Linked DNA regions of Homo sapiens: region 2 is linked to region 1. The links are contacts of gene promoters, found by promoter capture Hi-C in blood cells and fetal thymus (Javierre and others, 2016). All regions are on one chromosome and are shown on one strand. Each heading gives the region's core, a stretch centred on a gene start or on the middle of the fragment in contact. The rest is flanking DNA. Distances are from core to core; before and after follow the strand shown. Region 1 holds the start of FLACC1 (flagellum associated containing coiled-coil domains 1). Region 2 holds the start of CASP10 (caspase 10).

Region 1 (6,573 bases), core at 2,292-4,791:
GGCTGTTCTTAAACTCCTGACCTCAGTTGATCCACCCACCTTGGCCTCTCAAAGTGCTGGAATTACAGGCATGAGCCACTGCACCCAGCCCGGGCCCACGTATTCTTGAACAAATGTAGGTTTCTGTGTGTGCCTGTCCTATGCAGAGCCCTCTAAAGCCCAGGGCTCAGAACAGTGGCCCCTCTTTCTAGGTGCAAGGGTAGCACTACAGGCTTTCACGGGATTCCTGTGGCTACCTGGTCGGGTCTATTCAGGATGATCCATGGGAGTTAGCATAGCACCACTCTAAAGTCAGATGTTGAAAGCCAAAGATCAAAGAGAGTTGAGCAAGTGAGCAAGTTGGAGATAATTACAAGCTTCTTAAGAGAACACTGTCTTTTCCACACTGGGAGTGTTCTCATAGAGCCACAAATAGCGCTCCACAGATGGAAAGCCTCCGAATGCTCCCAGCTGACCATGTTTGCCACTTCGTGAATGCTGCAGCATCACACAAGAGGATATCTATTTCCCCAAGCCCTGTGCAGACCAATTTTGATAATATTGCTGTCAGAATTAAGTTGCAGTTTCTCTCATTCATTTTTCAACTTATACTTTGTTTTACTATTGGTGGCCTCCTCCACCTCTGTTCCAAATAGTAAGACACTTTGCTTTAGGCGAAGTTACTGAGAATGCCAGCACTTCCCCAATTTCATCCAAGAGAAGAGCACTTAACACTTAGCCCCTAAACACCTTCATTTCCTTCTCCTCAGCTGTTTTGGAACTGGCGAAGCTTTACTCATGTCCAAAAAGATGAAAGGAGAATGGGGATACCCAAGTAGTAGTAATTAGTGCTGAGCCTTTGCCAAGTCGAGTGGCTGGGGTATTCCTTCAGCACTTACTTCCTCTGTATCTCTGTTTTTAGCCATGCTTCACTCAAGACCCAAATCCTGCTGCTTTTTTTTTTTAATCATAAGAAAGGATTTAAATATAAAATTTTACACATTAAACACACTCAAAGTAAATATTCAATCTCTGGATGGAGACAGATTGTCTAGATGACTAATAGAGTCTATCAATTCTTCTCTAAGTTATTTCCCTCCTTTTAATCTTTGAAAGTCTCTCTTCATCTAGCCTGTTCATGGTGCTCAGAGTTGAAGCAGCCATAGTGCAACCAAGACGCTTCCCTCCATCAACACACCGAGGCTGGCATAACAGAGAGATGGAAAGAGCCCAGTTCTCCAAGGACATTGCTGAATCTTTGCACCAACTCTGATAGCACTGCCTCCAGACTCTATTTCATGAGGTTAATAAACCTCTTTGATGTAAGCCACTTGCAATCAAGCAACAGGTCTATGCATTTTAACTACACATGGCCCACACTGAGAAATCTTGTCGTAAATACTGGTGTCCTCAGAGCTCTGTTCTAGACCCTCTTCTCTCCTTACACAATACTCTCTCTATATGTGATCTCACTCGCTCCCTTGGCTTGGAATAGTATCCACTCTGAAGACTCCTAAATCTGCTTCTAGGCCAGAATCTTCCTCTGAACTTCTAAAATATGTAAGAAACTCTAACAGACGTCACCACTTGTCTATTAGTCTCCCTGCACCTCAACATATCCAAAACTGAACTAATAATCTGCTCCCTAGAACCTGTTTATCCCTCCACACTTTCCTATCTCAATAAATGGCACCACGGTCAACTCAATTGCTCGAGCTGGAAAGCCAGGAATCATCACCTTCTCCTTTTCGCTCATCCCAGCATCCAGTCAATCACCAAGTTCTATCATGTCTTCTCTCCATCCCCACTGCTGCTCCTCAGTCAGGGCCATCGTCAGGTCCCATGACGACCACTGCCACAGACTTTTACCTGGTTTTCCTGGCCCTTCCAATTGCTTCCCTATATTGCAGTCAGAATGATCTTTCTGATATGTAGATCTAGTCAGATCTCTTCTCTGTTTAACACTGCTGCCTGACTCACTGGACTAGAAGAGTAACTCCTGCTATGAACTCCCACTGCTTCTGGCAAGTCTCAATATGAGTCATTGTGGCTGCATGGTGACTTACACCTGTAATCCCAGCACTTTGGGAGGCCGAAGCAGGAGGATCACTTGAATTCAGGAGTACAAGACCAGCCTGGACAACATAGCAAGGCCTCATGTATACTAAAAGTCAAAAAAATTAGCTGGGCGGCCGGGCGCAGTGGCTCACGCCTGTAATCCCAGCACTTTGGGAGGCCGAGGCGGGCGGATCACGAGGTCAGGAGATCGAGACCATCCCGGCTAAAACGGTGAAACCCCGTCTCTACTAAAAATACAAAAAAATTAGCCGGGCGTAGTGGCGGGCGCCTGTAGTCCCAGCTACTTGGGAGGCTGAGGCAGGAGAATGGCGTGAACCCGGGAGGCGGAGCTTGCAGTGAGCCGAGATCCCGCCACTGCACTCCAGCCTGGGTGACAGAGCGAGACTCCGTCTCAAAAAAAAAAAAAAAAAAAAAAATTAGCTGGGCATGGTGCTGTGCACCTGTGTAGTCCCATCTACTTGGGAGTCTGAGGCAGAAGGATCGCTTGAGTCCAGGAGGTCAAGGCTGCAGTGAGCTATGCATGCAGCCTGCACTGCCACTGCCACTGCACCGCAGCCTGGGTAACAGAGTGAGCTACTGTCTCAAAGGAAAAAAAAATTAATTATGCTTTTATTGAGCTTTTTTATTGTCTGTTTTCTCATTGGTCTCTAAGTTGTATTGAGTATAAGAACTGAGGTATATCCCCACACCTAGCAATAGTGCCTGGCACACAGTAGACAACAAATGTGAAGTTGAGTGAATAGATGAATTTATAACAATATTTTGTAAGCTAGGGGTTGTGACCCACCAGGATCATGAAATCAATCTAGTGGATTATAATCAGCTTTAATTTAAAGAAGAAAAAGAAATAGAAGAGAATAGCAAATAATAAGAGTATTATTTCATGAAATTTTTTTATTACAAAATTTGTAAAATGTATTTCTTATAATGAGTGGCAGTAAAACTAAAATGAAAGCCACTGGGTTGTAATAAGCAAGTACTTTTTTCTATAGTAAGAAAAAGCAGCTTTATTTAAAAAAAAAAATCGGAAAACCTTGTGACTGCAAAAGATTCCTGCCTTGGGGGATTTTTACTTTCACAGATTTCAAAGCCTTAAACTCGAGGGAAAAAAGTGTCTAGAGTTTTAGGTTTCTGTGAGTAGATCACAGAGGAATTAAAAATCCATCACAGATCCTGCCTGGTAACTATTGCCATAGACCAATGAAGCCTAAAAGTGCTGTTGAATTCTATTTCCTCTGAAGATATATCTTAAACTTTTTTGTCCCATGACTGATGACGAAAGTGGAAATCCAGTGTTAAAAGTATGAATTCTTTGCTGTTGAGGGTGGTCACTGATTTGTGTCTTGGAGAATTTAATTGGCTGTTTCTCCCAACCTTCTCTCTTGAAGAAAAGAGCCCTGAGCCAATGAGGAGCTACTGTTCTGTGTCCATAGCAACAAAATAAACAAACTTTGGCCTGCCATCTCCCAAGGGCAAACCTCACAACTCAGGCCCAAGTCACAGGAATCTGAATGGTGGGGTGACCTTCTCCTCTAGTTTAATTTCATTGCAATACTGAGAAACTTCAACTGTTTTGTCTTTAGAAGGGAAATTCATGTTTGTGCCAGGCCAGCCTTTGTAAAAGCCTTTGATTGGATTCACTAGAAGTCTGTCTTCCCGCAGTACATATACTGTGAATTTTCTCCTTCGGCATTTCAACCACTTGGAATGGCCACTAAAGTGGCTTTTGATCTAAAGTAAACTCTGATTCTGTGTTGATGGGGAACCATTTCTCTCTAACATGGTGGTTTCTTTAAGATGTTTGACTTGGGCCACATGAGAATAACAGATCTTTGGGCAGTCCAAGGTAAGCTCTTTGGAAAAGATGTTTTATATTATTTTTTCTACTGATTATTAATACTAACCAGTAACTTCTCTGAAGCCTCTGCCGGCTCACTGGTGACTATTGTTAGGGCAAGCCTCAGGTAAAATCATCAGGTAGAAGTGCAGGAAAGGGAAAAAAGGGGGAGAAAAAATCCTTACACACACTCACACACCCCTCTATAATTAGAGCTATATGATGTCAAGCCACTGTAAATGCAGATCTATCTGTGATGACATGGAAATATCAACTAGATATCCTGTTACACAAAAAGAACAAGATGCAACATTGTGTGCAAAGTATGCTCTCACTTATGCAAATAATTTAAAAAATCTATTATGCTTCTCTACAGGTTAAGTTCTATATGCAAAACATTTAAGGTTATATGCACTCACAACATTTCTGGAAGGATGCCCCAAAAATCTGTTAGAAGTAGTTCCCACTTAAGAAGCTATGAGAAGTCAAGGGCTGATTTTAGCTACTGAAATATTAAAATACTGCCATATAGGCAGGGCACGGTAGCTCACACCTGTAATCCCAGCACTTTGGGAGGCTGAGATGGGTGGATCACCTGAAGTCAGGAGTTTGAGACCAGCCTGGCCAATATGGTGAAACCCCATCGTTATAAAAATACAAAAATTAGCCAGGCATGGTGGCGGGTGCCTGTAATTCCAGCTACTGGGGAAGCTGAGGCAGGAGAATCGCTTGAACCTCGGAGGTAGAGGTTGCAGTGAGCCAAGACCACACCATTGCACTCCAGCCTAGGCAACAAGAGCAAAACTCCGTCTCAAAACAATAATAATAATAAATAAAATACTGTCATATTGATTGGTAGATGACCATTGTCCAAGCCCCTTGCATGTCCTCCTTGCCACCTTGGTTGTCCCAACTCCTCCCCTGGCACCCCCAGACCACCTCATGATTCAGCAACTAAGGGGTTAATGCCTGGCATGGAGGTGGGAGTGAGATCTCCCAGGACCCTGTTCCAACCCTGGTTGATTATTCAATAGCCTTGTCTTACTGGTTGTTAAATATTTTGAGTATCACTCCCATGGGTGTTCAAAGAAAAAGGCCTTTATTTTTATTTTATTTATTTATTTATTTTTTAGAGACAGGGTCTTGTGCTGTCACCCAGGCTGAAATGCAGTGGTGTGGTCCTAGCTCACTGCAACTTCAAACTCCTGGCCTCAAGTGATCCTCCCGCACCACCTGCCAAGTGGCTGGGACTACAGGCACACTCCACCATACTAGGCTATTTTTAAAATTTTTTGTAGATACAGAGTCTCGATATGTTTCCCAGGCTGGTCTCAAACTCCTAGCCTCAAGCGACTCTCCCACCTCAGTCTCTCAAAGTGTTGGGATTACAGACATGTGCCACCACACCTGTGAGGCCTTCTTTTTTTTTTTTCTTAAGAGCAAAAGAATATATACCAAGACATTGTTTATCATGGGAAAGAGGAAAAGGAAACAACTACACATTCATCAAAGATCATTGAAAATCTATGTAAAACTCCACTGAGTGATTGTATCACCCATACAATTTACCTCTGCTTTCTGGCTTTTGAATGCAAATGTTTAATGTTATTTATAATATGGTAATGACGATTACAACATTTTGGCAGTTTCATCTGTGAATCTCTTTTCTCTTTGTTTTTGTTTTTTGTTTTATTCATTTATTTATTGAGACAGAGTCTTGTTCTGTCATCCAGGCTGGAGTGCAGTGGTGAGATCTCGGCTCACTGCAACCTCCACCTCCCAGGTTCAAGTGATTCTCCTGCCTTAGCCTCCCGAGTAGCTGGGATTACAGGCATGTGCCACCATGCCTGGCTAATTTTTGTGTTTTTAGTAGAGACGGGGTTTCGCCCTGTTGGCTAGGCTGGTCTCGAACTCCTGGCGTCAAGTGATCCTCTCGCCTTGGCCTCCCAAAGTGCTGGAATTACAGGCATCAGCCACCATACCATCTTTTTCTCTTTGTTGAGCTAGCCCCAACCACCATGATGAGCTGATTACAACCACTAAGTTTACTAGTCAGGTAAGAAATATTCATCAAATGCCCGTTGTGGACAAGCCACTTTGCAAGGCTTAGTGGAGGTGTTGAGGCACAGAGAGCACTCCATAGTGGAGTCCTGGCCTTCAAGAAGAGAGAAGGCAGTTGCTAGAAGTGGGCCTGCCTTAGCCTCTCACTTCTTGCCCCATGGACTCCTGCTAAATCTCCCAAGTTCAGGGTTGGCTCCTTTCGTACAGGAAGCAGATACAAGGTTCTAAGCAGAAGCAGTTTCTTTTTTGCTACTGTTGTAGCCTTCTTTCAGACTCTCACCTGAATTCCAGCCCCTTGTAGCATCATCTTCCCACCTGGGCACTCGATCCCATCTGCTTCTCTGACCTCATCTCCTTGACTTGGCCCTAACAGGCCCCCAAACCCAGTGGAGTATGGACAGTTATAAATGGCGGCCCTGTCACCTGCTCTTCAGGCCTTTGCTGTTTAGCCAGTCTCCTGGACTCCTTTCTAGCCCTGGACTCCTTTCTAGCCCTGACCTCTATTGCAGAAGACTCCCTAGTCCCAGGCCTCTGGCCCAGCCAACCCCTGCACACGCTGCCTTTCTTCCAAGGCCAGGTCTCTTGCCTTTGCTCCACTGCTCACTTAGCTCTCTTTC
Region 2 (6,573 bases), core at 2,948-5,447, 170 kb after region 1:
CACAGGCCAACCGCCCAGAGATTCTTCAACAGATACATTTTAAGAAAAAGAAAGAGATTTGGGGGCAGGGAGGAAATCTAACCTACAGATTAAAAGGCACTTGAAAGAAAAAACTGGACAAGGCCAGGTGCGGTGACTCACACCTGTAATCCCAACACTTTGGGAGGCCAAGGCAGGCAGATCACTTGAAGTCAGGAGTTCTAGACCAGCCTGCCCAACAGGGTGAAACCCTGTCTGTACTAAAAATACAAAAATTAGCTGGGCATGGTGGTGCATGCCTGTAATCCCAGCTACTAGGGAGGCTGAGGTAGGAGAATGGCTTGAACCCAGGAGGTGGAGGTTGCAGTGAGCTGAGATCATGCCACTGCACTCCAGCCTGGGCAACAAGGCAAGACTTCGTCTCAAAAAAAAACAAAAACAAAAACAAAACACAACAGATTCCAACAGAAGTGAGCATTTACTGAATGCTATACCAAATATTGGCCTCATGCTAATGCTTCATGAACATTATTCCAGCTAATTCTCCCAACAATCCTAGAAGGAAGTCATACGATTGCCCACAATTTTACGTCTAAGAAAATAGAGACTCAGAAAAGTTCAATCATTGGCCTCACAGCATGGGTTTAGAATTAGAATCAGGACCAGAATCTAGGCTCATCCAGCACCAAAGCCAATGTTCGTAACCATTGTATGATACTGTCTCCCATAAAAAATAAATCTCCCTAAAAACCCTTTCCAGCATCTTTCTAATCATTGATTAAGACAGTGCTCACACAGACCCATTCTGTATGACCCACTCACCATTTCAGTTTTGGGAAGCGAGTCTTTCAGAAGGAAGATCATGTCCTTTAAGTTCTCTGAGTCAATGCCTTCTGACAGTTCGTAGAGCAGGTTTCTAAGACACACACCCAAAATGACAAATAAAGCCTTACACTTGTGGAGGACACCATAATCAATCAAGTGCTTTCATAAATGTTTTCTGTCATTTGAATGATCAACTCTATGTGTAGACAATTATTAATCCCATTTATAGGTTCAAAAAATGAAAACTTTCAGTTTCTAAGTGACTTGTTTAAATAAAGATAACACAGTAAGTGGTAGAAGCAGGCCTTCTGACTCCAAGTCTAATGCTGTTTTTCACCACACTAAGAAGGCATATTTAAAAAAAAAAAGGCATAAAACACAATTCTGACATGCCTTCCCATCTCCTGATTCCATCAAGAAATTCAGGCTTACTTTACAGGCCCTTGGTAGATAGGACCCCAGGCCAGCCAAGGTACAGTCGGTTGTATATTGAAAAGGGAAGAAAACTACCCCAGCTTCGAGATATAATCCACAACCAGAAACAGTGAGGATTTCATCCACATACTAACACCCCTATGTGTCAGAGACTGTCCCTCAGATGTTTAGCCAGCAGAATGGAAATATGGATTTCTGGAATTCATCATTCCTTCCACTGACTCAAGGGCAACTCAGGTTCTGGAAGCCAGTTCCACCGCTAAGGCTTAATGTGTTCTAATCGCAGAGACCATAAAACACCCTCCAAAGGCTCCTCTTCGTGAGGTTCTCTGATGTGGACACTATGTCAGTGAACAATTTTAAACACTGTCATCAGCCTGGCACAGTGGCTCACACCTATAATCCCAGCACTTTGGGAGGCCGAGGTGCGTGGATCACTTGAGGCTAGGAGTTCCAGACCAGCCTGGCCAACATGTTGGAAACCCTGTCTCTACTAAAAATACAAAAATTAGCCAGGTGTGGTGGTGGGTGCCTGTAGTCCCAGCTACTCAGGAGGCTGAGGCAGGAGAATCGCTCGAACCCAGGAAGCGGAGGTTGCAGTGAGCTGAGATGGTGCCACTTCACTCCAGCCTGAGTGACAGAGCGAGACTCTGTCTCAAAATAAAAATAAAACGCTGTCATCCATGATAAGACCAATGCCTAAATTTTACCTCTTTGGGCAAAATGCCTGTTTTTACCTTTCTGGATTCCCACCCAAAAATATAGAAATTTCTATAACTAGACATGGCATAAATGACATCCCTCCCTACCCCAGAAACACATCTCTTTTTTCATCTTGCTTATTTCACTCCAAGTATGCATTACTCTCTTCTCAAGACCCCGGGAAACAGGTAGACAGACTAGTGGATCCCAGGAGGGAGAAGATCTGCACGTGTAGCCGCTGGTAAGCAGGGAAAACACGGGCTCTGCCACACTGAGGTGGGCTTCACTGCTAGTGAGAAGCAAAACAAAGGGAAGCCACCTCTGGGCCCAGGGCTTGGTCTTGAAGCTTTGCTGACCTCCCAACTCTTATCTCATTAGCATCAGAGGCTGAGAAGGAGGTTTAGAATCTCCTGGTTTATCATCCAAGGAGGTAGATAACCAAAAGATCTTAACTGCAGCTTCCTTTCAAAGCCCAATGGCCAGAATGAACACTAGATGGGAGATCCTCCCATCTCCACCACAGACCCGTCCTCACCTAAACAGAGAAACCCTTTGTCGGGTGGGCAGCAGTCGCTCCACTTCCTCTTTGGTACAGTTGAGGTGCTGCAGCAGCTTCTTCTGCCGTATGATATAGAGGAGTTCTGCCAGGAAGAAAGGGTCTTCCTCACTCAGCAGATCCTCTGCCAAGAGATGTTCAAAAACATCTGAGGCTGAGCTGGACTTCTCCAGCTTCTTGTTGGGGACCAATCCTATGCAGAGAAACTTGAGGTTCTCCACATCTTGGACCCCCAGGTTTGAATCAATAATCAGAAGCTTCTCACGAAAGCTCACTTTACAGTTTTTATCTGAACTGGAATACCAATGTTGACCTTGAGATTTCATGGCCAGCCTGAAAGGGACAGAGAGGTGGGGCAGGGAGTTAGAGAGTGAGGACATATGGCCCCCTGACTTCCCAGGCCCTCCCCTCACCACAACCTTCTCCGTTCTGGGCATTAGACTTTCCTAGAAGTGCTGAAAAATAAAAATTACGGCGAGGCTACTTCAAAAAGCAACAGCCCAGAAAACTTTTCCCCAACACTTGCAAGTTACTTTTTAGGAAACTTGGAGGGTGCTTATATTGGAATTCAATTCACCTTGATTTCTCCCAAATCAAAATGTTCCCAGAGAGAGAAAGTTAAGATGGAGGGACACAGCACAATTTTTCTCAAGCCTGGTAGCCTGATTGGAGCCCTTACATTCATTTCCAGCACGTGGCAGAAATAGCACTTGGCTCTATGCTTTAAGTTTTAGACACAAAGCAATCTGGGGGAGGCAGGGTTATCCTTATGATCTATCAACCCAAAGACAGCAAGGTACCGTGAGGTATGTGTGTTACATCTTAACTTCAGACTGCTACCTGTAAGAGGGCAGGCCTTTATCTTACAGAAAGGGAAGGCATAATCCTAGACCTCAAGCCTGAGCAACATGGCGAGACCTGGTCTCTACTAAAAATACAAAAAATTATCAGGGCATGGTGGCACATGCCTGTGGTCCCAACTACTCAGGAGGCCGAGGATGGAAGGATCATTTGAGCCTGGGGAGCACAGGTTGCAGTGAGCCATGATCATGCCACTGCACTTCACCCTGGGTGACAGAGTGAGACCCTGTTTCAAAAAGAAAAATAAATAAATAAAATATCCTAGACCTCAGGAGGAAAGGGTGGTTTTAGACAAGAGTTGCTCAAATCAGTGTAGGAAGTTAAAAATTACATGAGTCGGCTGCTCTGTCTATGGAGTAGCCATTCTTTTGTTTCTTTACTTCTCTAATAAACTTGTTTTCACTAAAAAAAAACAAATTACATGAGTCAATGTTTCCATCTGATCAGTTTATAAACTATGCTATTCTCTATACTAAATTTCATCATAATCAGAGGAGCAATGCAGTGATAAAATTTTCATTGTAATACTATTTATTCTATAAGCACTTGAGGTATGTAGTCAATATGCAGAACTTGGCTATTTTTAGAAACAAGAAAATACTTTATAAAGGAAGGAACAGGTGGGGTGTCATGGCTTACGCCTATAATCCCAGCACTTTGGGAGGCCAAGGCGGGTGGATCACTTGAGGCCAGGAGTTCAAGACCAGACTGGGCAACGTGGTAAAACCCCATCTCTACAAAAAATACAAAAATTAGCCAGGCATGGTGGTGCACGCCTGTGGTCCCAACTACTCAGAGGGCTGAAGCAGAAGGATCATTTGAGCCCCGGGGATGGAGGTTCCAGTGAGCCATGATTGTGCCACTGCACTCCACCCTGGGTGACAGAGCAAGACCCTGCCTCAAAAACAAAACAAAACAACAACAAAAAAACCTCCTAGACCTCAGAAGGAAAGGGTGATTTTAGACAAGAGTTGCTCAAATCAGCGAAGGAAGATAAAAATTACATGAGTCAATGTTTCCATCTGACTAGTCTATAAACTATGGTATTCTACATACTAAATTTCATTATAATCAGAGAAGCACTTCAGGAGACTGAGGCAGGTGGATCACTGTGAGGCCAGGAATTCGGGACAAGCCTGGGCAACACGGTGAAACCCCGTCTCTACAAAAAATACAAAAATTAGCTGGGCTTGGTGGTGTATGCCTGTGGTCCCAGCTTCATAGGAAGCTGAGATGGGAGGATTGCTTGAACCTGGGAGGCGGAAGTTGCAGTAAGCCAAGATTGTGCCACTGCACTCCAGCTTGAGTGCTGGAGGGTGAAAGAGGGAGACTCCGTCTCAAATAAATAAATAGATAAATAAATAAATAAATAAATAAATAAATAAAGGAAGGAAGACACAGCAAAAATCAAAACCTCCATAACAAACAGTGGTTATATCGAGGTGACATAACTATAGATAATACAAATTTCCTTCTGGGCTTCCAATTGAATTTCTCAAATTTTATGCATATGTGAGCATACACATTACTTTTGGTGTTAAAAGAAACAAAAAAATGTCATTTTTAATGTGATAATCCAGGGGATCTTCCCTGCTACTAGCCCTGAGGTCAAATGAGTGGTTTATTGGAGACACCTTTCTATTCTACCGCATCTAGCATTTGCCTTGTGGTTTCTTGACAATTCTGATCTCTAGTTTTAGTGAGTCTACCAAACTTTGTCTCTGTGAGCTAACATATTTCTGCCCCGGTAAAAGGCTATGTTGGAGGCTTCCGGATTTTTTAACTTTTGTTTTCCCAGGCATGACAAAGAAATCTAAGAAAAAATAGTGCCATTGCTGACAAGTTTTTGCAAGTTTCTACAACACGAAGCCATGAAGCAAAGGAAAAGATTCAAGCATGAGACTCTGGAGTAAGAAGGGTTGTTAATTACATACCTTCAGATCAAGCTCCACCAATCTTCTGGAAGTAAACGGTTCTCAGGGAAATTGCCTGAAAACAAAGTTTTAAAGAAAGTAGAATCCTCTGTGTGCTCCAAGGTCCAAAGAAGCTCCCATTTGCTTGGGAAGAGACTTCAAGACTTGCTGGTTGTTTAAGTGAAAACTGAATCTTCAGGACTGGGTAGCCTGATACTAGTTTCCTGCTGATGTCATCACTGCTTATCTGCCTTTTTCCCTCCCCTTTTCCAGGGTTAAGATAACTTTGACAAACAGCGTCTCCTAAAGGCTAATTTACAACTTTCTCACTGTAGAGCTTGGGGTTTCCCCAGGTAAAGCAAAAGCTTCCTAGAAACGAACCCGTGGAAGCCACAAAGTGCTTCAGGCTTTCCTTTGGATCTCCATTTCCTTGGTAAGTCAAAAAGGGAAGCATCTGTTTTCCTAACCAACTCCTTCCCCAAACACACTTCACTTTTCAAATAAAGCCAAAAAGCTCATGAAATAGTTGTCGGCCATGTTAACCCTTTCTTATGTCCACATGCAAATAAACAATGGAGCGATCTCCACTTACCGCAACCTCTGCCTCCTGTGTTCAAGTGATTCTCCTGCCTCAACCTCCCGAGTAGCTGGGATTACAAGCATGCGCCACCACGCCCGGCTAATTTTTTGTATTTTTAGTAGAGACGAGGTTTCACCATGTTGGCCAGGCTGGTCTCGAACTCCTGAGCTTGTGATCCACCCTCCTTGGCCTCCCAAAGTGCTGGGATTACAGGCATGGAGCCACCGTGCCCGGCCCACAAATAAAATTTTTAAAAGATAAAAGAAAAGTGGGGATTCACTTTCAGTCTTTGTGGGAGAAATTAAGAAATAAAAAGAAAAAGAAAGGAAAAAAAAAAGAAAAGTGGGGATGGTGAATTACAAGCCCATTTGGAGGTACCTGCAAGAGACTCAACAAATTTGTGGTAGGCAAAACTGACAGTATGTGTTCTCACAGCACATTCAAACCAGCAGGAAAGTGAGACTTTGAAGACATTATTTCTAATCATAAAAACAATACTGCACACTAATATTGCAACTACCATGTGCCAGGGCATTTACAAATATTTACTCATTTCACCATCCCAACAACACTGTAAGATAAATACTATTACTATGACTGCTGCTTTAACATGTGAAAACTAAGGCACAGAAAGGTTAATTAATTTGCCCAAGGTCACACAGTGAGCGGCTGGAAGAGCCAAGATTTAAACCAGCAAGTTTGGATCAAAGTCACTACACTAT

What was found. Contacts are between HindIII fragments. The CHiCAGO score rates a contact against its expected background, and 5 or more counts as called.
Region 2: a contact is called between a fragment that was not itself captured here and the fragment with the promoter of FLACC1 in region 1, in 2 of 17 cell types (endothelial precursors and M2 macrophages). The highest score is 6.9, in endothelial precursors.

The regions. Positions count from the first base shown.
Region 1 is chr2:201,354,313-201,360,885 of GRCh38, reverse strand. It overlaps FLACC1 (flagellum associated containing coiled-coil domains 1), which reads left to right and starts at 3,541. Exons shown (of 15, transcript NM_001127391.3): 1 at 3,541-3,904. The HindIII fragment of the contact is 10,294 bases long and covers 772-6,573 here.
Region 2 is chr2:201,182,028-201,188,600 of GRCh38, reverse strand. CASP10 (caspase 10) reads right to left here and starts at 5,460. Exons shown (of 10, transcript NM_032977.4): 1 at 5,293-5,460; 2 at 2,477-2,830; 3 at 802-895. The coding sequence starts at 2,823. The HindIII fragment of the contact is 2,882 bases long and covers 2,757-5,638 here.